Regions from separate parts of the Homo sapiens genome. Here region 2 is linked to region 1. The links are contacts of gene promoters, found by promoter capture Hi-C in human tissues and cell types (Jung and others, 2019). All regions are on one chromosome and are shown on one strand. Each heading gives the region's core, a stretch centred on a gene start or on the middle of the fragment in contact. The rest is flanking DNA. Distances are from core to core; before and after follow the strand shown.

Region 1 (3,053 bases), core at 399-2,898:
GAGTTCCTAGAGGAAAATTCACTACACAAGTATTTCTTGGAGGCCGGGCGCGGTGGCTCACGCCTGTAATCCCAGCACTTTGAGAGGCCGAGGTGGGCGGATCACGAGGTCAGCAGTTCGAGACCAGCCTGGTCAACATGGTGAAACCCAGTCTCTACTAAAAATACAAAAATTAGCTGGGCGTGGTGGCGGGCACCTGTAATACCAGCTACTCAGGAGGCGGAGGTTGCAGTGAGCCAAGATCCTGCCATTACACTCCAGCCTGGGCAACAGAGCAAGACTCCGTCTCAAAAAAACAAAAATCAAATGTTTCTTGGAGGCTGGAGAGCAATCAAAAGAACAGGTATGCTGAACTTAGTAAACTCTCCTCAAAGCCCCATGCTGGGGAGATTGAGGCTTCCTTCAGAGATGACATTTGGGTGACAGCAACACAGGATGAACCTAGAAGTTTCATCTTTCTAATAGAAACTATAGGAAGAGGACAGAAGAAAAAGGGTGGTGGTCTCAGAACAATTTGTATTAAATAAATATTGCTGAGCTCCTACGTGTTAGGCCCTATACCAGATAATTTAACACCATTGACCACCCCCCCACCCCTACTTTAGAGGCAAAAATTTGAAGCTCAGCCTACTCAAGCAGCTGACCTCATCATTTCAAAACAGATTTGATTTCCAGGGTTGCCTGCTGTCAGTCCAGCCTTCTTTCCATTATATTACAGCTGGGCAGCAGCCCGCAAAGATCAGGGGTTTGAGACCGTACATCATAATACCAAGACAACGAGTCTCAAAACACACTTTAAAAAATCGGGTTCTGTCAGAAGCTCAAGAAGGGAAGAGGCCCGAGGCTCGACCTGCATCACCTCCCTGGAAAGCCAGGGATGAGATACCCTGGCTTTAATAAATGTTTTTTTTTTTAAGAGCAGAGCGGAACCAGGAGGAGAAACTGAGCCGCTCAGCAAAAACGAAGTAACAGCTGTACTAGTCACAGGGGCAGGATAGGGAGGTTCCAAGAGGGCACTCAGAAGGGGCTCTGTGGTTGGCAGGCCACTACAGATCATAAGCCGTCCATCGCTGAACAGGGGGTGGGGTAGATTTAAGATCAGAGATCAAATCTACTTCTCTATCCTAGCCTCCAGTTTCACAAAAAAGGAAAGATAACCTATGCACTGTGAATTCCTAAGAACAGGGGCCAAACACCGCTCAGCCTGGTACCCCTAAGACCTCACTCAAAAAGTCAGGGAGTTTTCGGCCACTTCAGAAAGACTTTGTTGTTACCCCTCCGTCTTAACCCAGGTGAGTTAAGTGACAATCAAATTCACCCAGCTCATGGGCACTGAGCAGGGCCGAGGGCCAAGGACCTCACCCACAAGGTCGTGTCCCGCGTTCAGTAGCGTGCGGGACGCGGGGCCCCCGAAAGTGGATTCCTGCCCCGCCCAGCGGAGGGACGGCAACAGCAGGAAGGGACTAAGAGAGGTCTCTTCCGGGAGGCCCCCCGAAGGCTGGACCTAGTCCGAACCGGCTCCGGAGGGCCGCAGGAACCTATGAAACACGCCGCTCACCTGCAATGGCCTCGGCCGGCCGGGATGGCAACAGATGGTGCGTGCCGGGGACCGCGTTAGCAGCAGCACTCTTGAGAAACCAGGAAAAGAGGAAACATGCGCGCGCAGCGGGCGCCGCCGTAAACACGACCGGCGCTGTCGTAAACTGCTCTCCCGCTTCCTCTGGGTTGGGCGGAAGAACTCACGAGCCGTAAAGCGAAGGTCCACCCGGAAATCCGTTACTGCGTTTCGCCAGGCGTCCTCATTAGCCTCCGAGGCGCCGAGACGCGAGAGGTGTGATTGGCACTACGTCAGGCGGTATCCGGGGACGCCCAAAGAGGGCGTTCATCACTGAAACTTGGCGGCCGCGCAATCGAAGCTCGAGGCGGGGAGCGACTGGCGCCCTTCTGTGTCCCACAATGCTTCGCGGCGCGCCTCAGCCCCCATGTATCCCACCGTCACCCGCGACTCCCCGCCTGTTCTACCTGCCTGCTTAATGTGAAACTCAGCGCAGGGGAGGTCCGTCGGTGTCTTAGGCGGTCCTTATTGTTACTCCTCCGCCTTTATAGTTGTGGAAACTGAGGCTCAGAAGTGCCAAGTGACCTGCCTAGATCAGACTGTTAGTTTAGGGTTCTAACCGCCAGAGTTCAAACCATACTTCCGCAGTTCTCAAACTTAATTGTAGGACAGGGATTTCTGGAACAGTGTTTTTATTTATTTTTATTTATTTTTTGAGACAGGGTTTCGCTCTGTCGCCCAGGCTGAAATGTAGTGGCAGGATCACGGCTTATTGCACCCTCGACTTCTCAGGTACAAGCGATCCTCCCAGTTCAGCCTCCCGAGTCGTTGGTGTACACAGGCACGCACAACCACGCCTGCCTAATTTTTGTATTTTTGGTAGAGATGGGGTTTTGCTATGTTGCTCAGGCTGGTCTCAAACTCCTGAGCTCAACAGTCCACCCACTGGGGCTAGGGTTACAGGCATGAGTCACCGTACCCGGCCAGCTAATGATTTTTAAAAATTTTGTAGAGACAGCGTCTCACTATGTTGCCCGGGCTGGTCTTTAACTCCTGGTCTAAAGTGGTCCTCTCGCCTCAGCGTGCGGAGCAGCTGAGGCTACAGGTGCATGCCACCATGCCTGGCTAATTTTTTTTTTTAGACGGAGTCTTGCTCTGTCTTCCAGGCTGGAGTGGAGTGCAGTGGCGCTATCTCAGTTCACTGCAACCTCCGCATCCCAGGTTCAGGTGATTCTCCTGCTTCAGTCTCCCGAGTAGCTGGGATTGCAGGCGTGTACCAACATGCCCGGCTAATTTTCCTTTTAGTAGAGACGGGGTTTCACCTTGCTGACCAGGCTGGTCTCGAACTCCTGACCTCAGGTGATCTACCCACCTCGGCCTCCCAAAGTGCTAGGATTACAGGCGTGAGCCACTGCGTCCGGCTGCCTGGCTAATTAAAAAAAAAAAAAAAAACTTCTGTGGAGACGAAGTCTCATCATGTTGCCAAGGCTAGTCTCAA
Region 2 (2,854 bases), core at 12-2,511, 580 kb after region 1:
ACAGGGGCCTGAAGCAGTCCCCCAGCTCTGAGCACCATGGACCCCACCCTGGCACCTGCTCCTCACTCCCTCCTGCCCTTCTGGCCATTGGAGGGTCTCGGGTCTGCCTGCTGGAGGCTGAGCTCCTTGGGGCGGGGCCGCGACTCCCCCAGCAATGCAGATCCGGATTCAACCACTGCGTATGAACTCCTACCATGTGCCAGCCCTGTGCTGGGCAGTGCTGCAAACTCCACTGCAGCCTCCAACAGCCTGGGGTGCCTACTTTGCTGACTCTATTTAATGGCTGGGGAAACTGAGGTAGAGAGAGGTAACATGACTTACCCGAGGTCCCTCAGCCAGGGCAGAGCAGAGCAGAGCAGGGACTCTGGGCTAGGGCCATAGGGGCATCTTTCAGTGAAACCATTAGGCCCTAGAGTCCTGAGAGTGTGGGGGACTGGGTGGGGGTCCCTTCCACACATATAAACACACTCACAGACCCACAGATGTACACAGATGGAGACACGCGGAGGGATATACGCACATCTATTCATGACACAAAAATTCATAGATGCACGCCCTTCCTACACAGACACACACACGAACACACATACACATACATGCCAACTCTGAGCCTGTGAGCCCAGGGTCCTGGGCTTAAGTCAGTACATAGGTGCAATGTGGGGCTCCGGGCCTGTCTCCTACACCAGAAGGCCCAGGTGGGGTACCGGGTGTGGAGGGGGCAGCATGTCCAGTCCTGCGAGGCAGGGGTAGGGTGGCCTCTCCCTTCCTCCTGTCCCTGCCACCTGAATCCCAGGCCACCAACCACCCAGCACTGATGCTGTGCCTGTCCACACACCTGGTGTCACCCTGCGTGGTCCCTCCCCTCCCCAGCTCTGTGGGCCCCTCACCTTCTGCTCACTGATCACCCTCTGGCCGATGAGGCCCTGCAGGCCTGGCCTCGGAGCAGGGTAGGTGGCTCAGGCTGCAGGGAGCCAGGCCCAGCTCTTAGGGTGGACACTGTCACTAGGTCATTTATAGATCCCGGTCCCCTGTCCTGGAGGCCCCCGCTTACCTTTGGGAGCGGCAGATAGGTGCCGGGCCTGCACACAGGCCTCAGGAGCCTCTGTTTGTCCAGGCCAAGGCCTCCCCACCCCCACCCAGCCAGCCCAGGCTGGATCAATGGCCTAGAGCCATGACCAGGGTGTCTGGCCCTTGTCCCCTGTGGCCTGTGGCCTCAGGCTCCATGGAACTCCTCCTGCTGGGTCCTGGACAGCACTGTGACTAAGTACAGGTAAACAGGCAGGAGGTAGGAGAAGGCAGTGCCTGCCCCGCCCCATCTTCCCCCACCCCCGCATGGGCACCCCAGAGGCTGGCAGGCAGGTGCGGGAGATCTGAGCTCTCCCCCGAGGCCCGTTGCCTGGTGACATGCCTGCCTGGTTACAGCCCCTGGTCCCCGAGAGCATGAGGTAGGGACAGCCAAGGACTGGGGACTGTGCAGAGGCCGGTGCAGGTGAGTGCAGGGGCTCACAAGGGTGAGTCCAGGTGCTTACCTGGACAGGCGAGACTAAAGGAGCTGCTGGCCTGAGAGAGAGAAAAGGAGGCTGGGCCCATATACTCTGGGGACTGGAGAGGAGAAAGGGGAGGCAGGGGTGGGGTTTGATGCTATTTTCTGTTTAGCTGGGAATTATTTGAATTCCTACCTCGTTCTTTTTTTTTTTTTTTTTTTTTTTTAAGATGGAGTCTCACTCCGTCACCCAGGCTAGAGTGCAGTGGTGTGATTTCGGCTCACTGCAACCTCCGCCTCCCGGGTTCAAGCAATTCTCCTGCCTCAGCCTCCCAGGTAGCTGGGATTACAGCGCCCACCACCATGCCCGGCTAATTTTCATAATTTTAGAAGAGATGGGGTTTCACCATGTTAGCCAGGCTGGTCTCGAACTCCTGACCTCAAGTGATTCCACCCACCTCGACCTCCCAAAACGCTAGGATTACAGGCATGAGCGACCGCACGCAGCATGAATTCCTACCTGGTTCCGTAGCGCTGTGCTGTCCATGACGGTAGCCGCTGGTCACCCGTGGCTCTTGAGTCAGTCTGAACTGAGAAAAGCTGCACGGGGGAGACGCACACCAGGTTTCCAAGGCCAAGTGCAAACAGGATGTCAACCAACGCGATAACAATTTTTATATTGATTTTATGTTGAAATAACACTGGTGATCATGGGATAAATAAAATGTATTATTAAAAGCAATTTTCTTCTGGCTCTCTTGTTTTTTTTTTTTTCAGAGACAGGGTCTCATTAGGTTGCCAGGCTGGTCTGGAGCTCCTGGGCCCACATGATCCTCCTGCTTCAGCCTCCCAAGTAGCTGGGATTACAGGCGCGGGCCACCACACCCCTTGTTGCATGTGGATATTAGACAGGTTAAGTCACAAGTGTGACCTGCGTTGTTGTTCTATGGAACAGCGTTGCTGTGGAGATGGGTTTGAGCCATATGCGTGCCGAAGTGCCGGATGGGAGCCAGGGCTTTCTAGGGTGCGTGCAGGGCAGCGGGCGTCTGTCTCAGACAAGGCTGACTTTCAGCGAGTCTACATCCTGAGGCCAGAATGCGGGGTGCACGCCTGAGATGCTGTGTGCTGTGGGCATATGGGTCCCAGAGTGTGTGTGTAAGAGAGACAGTCTGGAATTTGTGTGTGTAGATTATGTATGTGTAGAATGTGCGTGTGTGTGTGTGTGTGTGTGTGTGGAGCGTAGGGATTGTGTGTGGGGTATAAGATTTGTGTGAGAGGTGTGTCTGTGAGGTTTGTATGGTGTGGGGTGGGGGGTGTGTGAAGTGTGTTGTGTGGGCATATGGACTGTGCATGTGTGTGCAGTGTGGGTGC

Evidence for each region. The method cuts DNA at HindIII sites, captures the fragments that hold promoters and counts their contacts. A contact is called where the count stands out against the background at its distance.
Region 2: the fragment with the promoter of TMPRSS6 here is called in contact with the fragment with the promoter of EIF3D in region 1 in 2 of the 25 tissues and cell types used here (mesenchymal stem cells and mesendoderm cells).

What each region holds. Positions count from the first base shown.
Region 1 is chr22:36,527,518-36,530,570 of GRCh38, forward strand. EIF3D (eukaryotic translation initiation factor 3 subunit D) reads right to left here and starts at 1,649. Exons shown (of 15, transcript NM_003753.4): 1 at 1,559-1,649. RefSeq lists enhancers at 1,160-1,209, 1,520-1,919. The HindIII fragment of the contact is 12,569 bases long and covers 1-3,053 here.
Region 2 is chr22:37,108,452-37,111,305 of GRCh38, forward strand. TMPRSS6 (transmembrane serine protease 6) reads right to left here and starts at 1,262. Exons shown (of 18, transcript NM_001374504.1): 1 at 1,052-1,262. The HindIII fragment of the contact is 35,568 bases long and covers 1-2,854 here.